Linked DNA regions of Homo sapiens: region 2 is linked to region 1. The links are contacts of gene promoters, found by promoter capture Hi-C in blood cells and fetal thymus (Javierre and others, 2016). All regions are on one chromosome and are shown on one strand. Each heading gives the region's core, a stretch centred on a gene start or on the middle of the fragment in contact. The rest is flanking DNA. Distances are from core to core; before and after follow the strand shown.

Region 1 (3,606 bases), core at 787-3,286:
GCTAATTTTTTTTTTGTGGAGATGGGTTTTTGTCATGTTGCCCAGGCTGGTCTCAAACTCATGGGCTACTTCCACCTTGGCCTCTCAAAGTGGTGGGATTACAGGCATGAGCCACAGTGCCTGACCTGGTTTTGTTTTGTTTTTTCAGTGATATGGGAAGTTATTCAGCTAGGTGTGAGTGAGGAACTAGAACATTTCTCCTGGACCTCCAGGCATGAATTTGGGAACTTCTTTCTCAGTCTCAGTCTATTTTCCTAAAATGTTTAAGGTCTTTATTCTTTTCTATGCAGCCCGACCATTAGATGTGACCTCCGTGGTTGTAAGGGATGGTTGTTTGGACACAAAATACCTAATATCCTGGGTGTCAAAATTCCCTAGTGAAGTCAGGCCCTGGACTTCTCTTTTTTGTCAGTCTCATAAATCAGGCAGACATGAGCTTTTATTTGTGGATGCACCAAATAAATACCCTAGTGGACAGCTTTGCTCAGCCTGGCCACTGAAAGAGCCACCTAAATAAAATCTCAGGTCCAGGCCGGGTGCGGTGGCTCACGCCTTTAATCCCAGCACTTTGGGAGGCCGAGGCGGGCAGATCATGAGGTCAGGAGATCGAGACCATCCTGGCTAACACAGTGAAACCCCGTCTCTACTAAAAATACAAAAAAATTAGCCGGGCATGGTGGCAGGCGCCTGTAGTCCCAGCTACTCAGTAGGCTGAGGCAGGAGAATGGCGTGAACCCGGGAGGCGGAGCTTGCAGTGAGCGGAGATTGCGCCACTGCACTCCAGAGCCTGGGCGACAGAGCGAGACTCCATCTCAAAAAAATAAAAAAAAATCTCACGTCCAGAAAAATTGGCCTTCCAGGGCCCCAGAACCCTTTTTACCAGTCTAGTAATAGCCTTTCATCAGCCTAATTTCCTATTCTTTTTAGTCTGAATGTATGGTGTAATGTGCATAAAATACACAAGTCCAAATTTTAGCATTCCGTGGACGCAAAATGTGCCAAAGGTGGATACTTTGCTTCTGTCATACATCGGTAGTCAACTTCCCTATACATCAAACTTTCAGCAAATTCAAACATTTTCCTTGAAAGCTGTGTTACTTTGGCCAAATTACTTAACCTCTCTGAGCTTCAGTGTGTCTACTTCCTCATGTCATGATTAAGAGTTAATATCTACTGGCTTAAAAAAGAAAAAAAAGGAAAAAAATTAAATGAGATGATGGGTGTGAAGCAGGGATTGGCTGAATGTAAGCATTCAATAAATATTCAGTTTTAAAATTGTAATCTCAGCCTTCCCGCCCTGCAGAGGCTACACCCTGGCAGGACTTAATCTCCTAAATCTCTGCCGCTTACCCTAGTCTTTTGCACCAATTTAATCATTCCTTCACGCAGGGTCTACTGAGCGCCATCCCTTGTGCTGGACTCTGGCTACTTAAATAGGAATCAAGCCAGGTCCCTACCATTGCTCAGCCCGCAGCCGAGTGGGAAAGAAGCTCGCAAAAGCAGCAAACAGGCAGTAATCGAGGTATGTATCTGCTTTTGTTAAGGGCAAGTGGGGGAGCGAAGGTCTGTGTCTGAAACTTGGGTGTGAGGGGTTAGTTGGAGTAATCCAGGCAATTGGCACTGCCCGTTTAAGAGCACGGGCCCAAGAGGGGAAGGGGACTCCAGGTGAAGCCCTAAGGCCCGGGAAGATCTGCGGGAGGCGGCAGGGCCCAGGGCGTTGAATGCCCGGCCACAAGATCAGCCTCCTCCCATTGGCGAAAGGAGCCCCGAAGAGCTTGTGTTCAGGAGGGAGGCCTCGGCCTGGTCAAGTCATCTAGCAGGAAGAGTCCCGGACAGTGCAAAGCAAATGCAAGAAGACCCCCTCCCTAGCCGATGGGAAATGCCCCAGCCGTTGAAGGCGGAAATAACGGCCTGTAGGCAACGGAACTCCCAGCGTTCGCAAAGGAGGGAGGAGCCGGAAACTCAGGGCGCGAGGCCTGTGGGCCCAGCGGTGAGGCAGCAGCTGGGGGCGGGGGGAGGGCGGACCTAGCTTCCCAGGGCAGGTGATTCGTCGGCCCCGGTGGCGGCGGCGCGTGCGACGGTCACCTCGGTTTGGGTGAGTCCCTGGGTTCGAGCCCGGGCCCCGCCAGCTGCCGAGTTGCCTCTCGGTGCCGGACTGTGACTCCCTCTGGCCGGCCCTGCACTCTGGCCTCCTGGGACGTCATCTGGAGGGATAGAGCCAGGCCTGGGACTCCTTTTGGGAGAGTTTCCGTTCTTCTATTCCGTGCTGTCCGGCCAGGACCCCTCAGGGACTTCTGTGGGGCAGGGGCGAATCATGCATGGCCTAGATGACCCCATGCCTAGAAAAAGGCAGTGCGGGGCGGTGGCGGCGCGCACGGCCGAGTGAAGCAGATAGCGTCCCCGGGGCTGGAGCCCGGTAGCAGGGGTAGGGAAACGCGGAGGCTGCCAGGATGCGGACCCAGGGGACGCGAGGCGGGGGCGCCGGATGGGGAGACGCGAAGGAGGGGGAAGGGGATGGGGGAGGGGGCTAGACAGGGAGGGAGGGTGGAGCGTGGGCGGGGCCTGGGGCGGGTCGGACTTTAGGGAGTTGGAGCGGGGGTTACTGGTGCTAAGACCACCTGGGGCTAAGGTCCGAACACTTGGAGGCAGCACCATCCAAGGAATGGGTTGAAACAGCAGGAGCCCGGCGGGGCGCAGTGGCTCACGCCTGTAATCCCAGCACTTTGGGAGGCCGAGGTGGGCGGATCACCTGAGGTCAGGAGTTTGAGACCAGCCTGACCAACATGGTGAAACCCCATCTGTACTAAAAATACAAAAAAAATTAGCCGGGCGTTGTGGCGCGTGCCTGTAATCCCAGCTACTCGGGAGGCTGAGGCAGGAGAATCGCTTGAATCCGGGAGATGGAGGTTGCAGTGAGCCGAGATCATGCCACTGCACTCCAGCCTGGGCAACAAGAGCGAAACTCTGTCTCAAAAAAAAAACAACAACAACAAAGAAAAAACAAAACGAAACAGCAGGAACCCGCCAAGAACAGCCTTGAAGGAAGGTAAAGGAACCGCCCCAGTATCCAGGACATCAGTTTTTCTTTTTTTTTTCTTTTTGAGACGAAGTCCAGGCTGGAGTGCAGTGGCACGATCTCGACTCACTGCAAGCTCCGCCTTACGGGTTCAAGCCATTCTCCTGCCTCAGCCTCCCGAGCATCTGGGACTACAGGCGCCCGTCACCATGCCTGGCTAATTTTTTTGTATTTTTTTTTTTTTTTTTAGTAGAGACGGGGTTTCACTGTGTTAGCCAGGATGGTCTCGATCTCCTAACCTCAGGTGATCTGCCCGCTTCAACCTCCCAAAGTGCTGGGATTACAGGCGTGAGCCACCGCGCCAGGCCCAGGACATCAGTTTCAAAGGTTGTGTGGTTCTTGGCAGAGCGGGAGCCCACACCAAGATAGTGCATGATAGGCCTAATAAAGGTGCTTTGGATTTGGTCATTACTTTGGTGATGAACTGAAAACATAATGACTTTTTAAAAATTTTTATCGGCCGGGCGCGGTGGCTCACGCCTGTAATCCCAGCACTTTGGGAGGCCGAGGCGGGCGGATCACGAGGTCAG
Region 2 (3,606 bases), core at 316-2,815, 120 kb after region 1:
GAGATCAAACCTGAATTAGGCTGTAGACTCCCCCTGCTGGGTAAGAATGGGGAGAAGAGCAGAAAACCTAAACTTGGGCTTGAAGAGTCACAGGTTCCATTACACTTAAATCCTCATGTGTTTTCTCCACAGGGAGCATTTCCAGCTCGTTTGAAGAAGGTGCTGATTGTGGGGGCACCCATATGGTTCCGAGTGCCCTATTCCATCATCAGTCTCCTCCTGAAGGACAAAGTCCGGGAGAGGGTAAGGCAAGCTTGCCCTTTTTTATCTGGAGGTGAATAGATACAGTGAATTCCTGCCAATTAATTTTCTACCTTCAAAAAATCCTCCTGGCGTGTCTTCTAGAGCCTGTTCTGCTTCTGTTAGTGCATTCACTTATATTCTCTACCTGATGCATTAGTCAGTTCAATACAGACTGCCTCTCTTACTGTCCTACGAGCTTCTTGAAGTTCAAAACTAAACACAGTTTATCTGGTTCTCACTTTCTATAGCACCTTGCATAAGATAGTACTGAAGGAACGTGTCCTGGAGGTAACTTAGGGATAGCTGCTACTTCCAAAATTTATCCTAGTGCTGCATAGGCCTTTAATATTTAACAGCTTGTAATATAACTGCATTAGTTGAACTGGCATTAGAATTTGTTCAACTGGAAACATCATTCAATCCCTTGACCACCAGGGTTGTGGAGGAAAGTTTTTCGTTATGTCTCTTTCTACATTTATTCCTGGCATTTTTTTTTCTCAGAATACCTTGTTGCTTCCCAATTTCAAAAGCGTTCAAAATTACTTTAATTCTGGGCCAAGTGTAATGGCTCATGCTTATAATACTAACACTTTGGGAGTCCGAGGCCAAGGCGGGAAGATCGCTTGAGGCCAGGAGTTTGAGACCAGCCTAGGCAACACAGTGAGACCCCGCCGCCACAATAAAACCAGAAACTTTAATTCTGTTATAATCTCCTGCGTGTTCCATGATTAAAAGATTTATGGTCTCAGTTACTGATTGCAGCAATTAAAAGACAGGACATGAAAGTGAAAACATTTGGTTCTGTGGAAGCTGCTTAGAGACCTAATGACGCAGAGTAGGAGAGAGCTTTTCTTTTTTTTTTTTTTTTTTTTTTTTTGAGAGTGTCTCACTCTGTTGCCTAGGCTGGAGTGCAGTGGCACGATCTTGGCTCACTGCAGCCCCGCCTCCTGAGTTCAAGCGATTCTTCTGCCTCAGCCTCCTGAGTAGCTGGGAGTACAGGCGCACGCTACCACACCCAGCTAATTTTTGTATTTTTAGTAGAGACGGTGTTTCACCATATTGGCCAGGCTGGTCTCGAACTCCTGACCTCATGATCCGCCCACCTCAGCCTCCCAAAGTGCTGGGATTACAAGCGTGAGCCACCTTTTTTGAGACGGAGTCTCGCTCTGTCTCCCAGGCTGGAGTGCAGTGAAGCGATCTCGGCTCACTGCAAGCTCCGCCTCCCAGGTTCAAACCATTCTCCTGCCTCAGCCTCCCTAGTAGCTGGGACTACAGGCGTGTGCTGTCACGCCCGGCTAATTTTTTGTGTTTTTAGTAGAGACGGAGTTTCACTGTGTTAGCCAGGATGGTCTTGATCTTCTGACCTCGTGATCCACCCACCTCAGCCTCCCAAAAGTGCTGGGATTACAGGCATAAGCCACCGTGCCCAGCCAGGAGAGATCTTTTCTTTCTTTTTTTTTTTTTTTTTTTGCGACAGAGTTTTGCTGTTGTCGCTGAGGCTAGAGTGCAATGGCATGATCTTGGCTCACTGCAACCTCCGTCCCCCGGGTTCAAGTGATTCTCCTGCCTCAGCCTCCCAAGTAGCTGGGATTACAGGCTCCTGCCAACATGCCCAGCTAATTCTTGTATTTTTTTAGTAGAGATGGGGTTTCACCATGTTGGACAGGCTGGTCTCAAACTCCTGACCTCAGGTGATCCACCTGCCTCAGCCTCCCAAAGTGCTGGGATTATAGGCATGAGCCACCGTGCCAGCTGGAGAGATCTTTTCTAAGGTAACTCTTTGAGAGGAATCCATAGGCAAGTTCTTGCACTTGAATTATAGGAATTATACATGCATGTATAAACTCAAAATATATTAAGCACTTTTTGTAGTCGAAGCACTGGTTCCTGATAATTAAAAATTAAGTGAGACAGTCTACCCTCAAGGAGCTCATGGTCTTGATAGGGAACACAGAGATACACATAGGAGGACTTTGGCTCTGCAGGAACGCAGAGGAGCATATGGCCTCAGGCAGTCAGGAAAGACTTCACAGAAGAGGTGAGCTGTGCTGGTCCATGAAGAGGCAGAGGAGGAAAGGAAGGCATTCCAAGAAGAGGCGACAGCAAAAGAGATGAGCTTTTAGGAGGAAGAGAATCCCCATTCCACAGAGATCCTAAGGAGAACCAGTTAAGCTAATTAGTTCCAGCATGGCTATGTCCAAGCAGAGAGCAGAATTAAGTTTTATGGTTACTACAAAAAATTAGCTGGGCGTGGTTGTGTGCATCTGTATTCCCAGCTACTTGAGGGGCTGAGGTGGAAGGATCACTTGAGCCCAGGAGGTTGAGGCTGCAGTGAGCCTTCATCACGCCACTACACTCCAGGCTGGGTGAAAAAGTGAGACCCTGTCTCAAAAAAAAAGTGTTATCTCACATTTTTCCTGGGCTACCCTGCCTCTGGGTGTCTTGCTTTCATAGAATCCTATCTTTGTGAACAGTTATACCAAGCTGAGTAAAATACAAGCTAACAGGCCTTAGAATTGGTTGTCTGAGTATGGGGTTGACAAAAATAACTACTACCTATGCATTCTTAGTGGCCAAAAAAAGAGTACCAGCATGCAGCGATGCTGGGAAGCCTTGTTAATAATATAAAGCTTTTGTTCACTACATCGTCCTTTCAGAAGATGTATAACAGTGTCCCTAATTCCAGGAGTGAATTTTATATACATTCTGGGAGTTCACACTTTTATCTGGCAAATTCATAGGACTTAAATCTCAGGCAGATGAAATGTAGTCTACTACTTTTACAAGTATACCTTGTATTTCAAGAAAATCTTATCCCATCCTCCAAACCTGATATAAATACATTTATTCTTTGTCACTCTATATGCCTTTCCCTCCTCCCACATACTCACATGGTTCTTTCTAACCTTCCAGATTCAAATATTAAAGACATCTGAGGTCACGCAGCATCTGCCCAGGGAGTGTCTTCCAGAAAACCTGGGTGGGTACGTCAAAATTGATCTCGCCACTTGGAATTTCCAGTTCCTACCCCAGGTGAACGGCCACCCAGATCCCTTCGATGAGATCATCCTGTTCTCCCTCCCTCCTGCCTTAGACTGGGACTCAGTACATGTTCCAGGTCCCCATGCTATGACCATCCAAGAGTTGGTGGACTATGTTAATGCCAGGCAAAAGCAAGGAATCTATGAGGAATATGAAGACATTCGTCGTGAGAACCCTGTTGGCACTTTCCACTGTTCCATGTAAGTAGAAAAAGTTTGGGCCAGCAGCTGGTTACCAGGATGCTTCTGGTAGGCTCTGGCAACAGCTCCTTCCACCCCTCACTTGCTTAGCAGAGACCCTTCCTTATGTTAGGGAACATCA

What was found. The method cuts DNA at HindIII sites, captures the fragments that hold promoters and counts their contacts. A CHiCAGO score of 5 or more calls a contact.
Region 2: a contact is called between a fragment that was not itself captured here and the fragment with the promoter of SNUPN in region 1, in 8 of 17 cell types (naive CD4 T cells, activated CD4 T cells, total CD4 T cells and 5 more). The highest score is 12.0, in naive CD4 T cells.

What each region holds. Positions count from the first base shown.
Region 1 is chr15:75,624,155-75,627,760 of GRCh38, reverse strand. It overlaps SNUPN (snurportin 1), which reads left to right and starts at 2,036. Exons shown (of 9, transcript NM_005701.4): 1 at 2,036-2,095. RefSeq lists an enhancer at 1,668-1,857 and a silencer at 2,508-2,557. The HindIII fragment of the contact is 10,585 bases long and covers 1-3,606 here.
Region 2 is chr15:75,505,554-75,509,159 of GRCh38, reverse strand. It overlaps PTPN9 (protein tyrosine phosphatase non-receptor type 9), which reads left to right. Exons shown (of 13, transcript NM_002833.4): 6 at 133-243; 7 at 3,157-3,485. Among named protein-coding and RNA genes, the nearest start is that of SIN3A, 56 kb to the right of the region's middle. The HindIII fragment of the contact is 2,620 bases long and covers 256-2,875 here.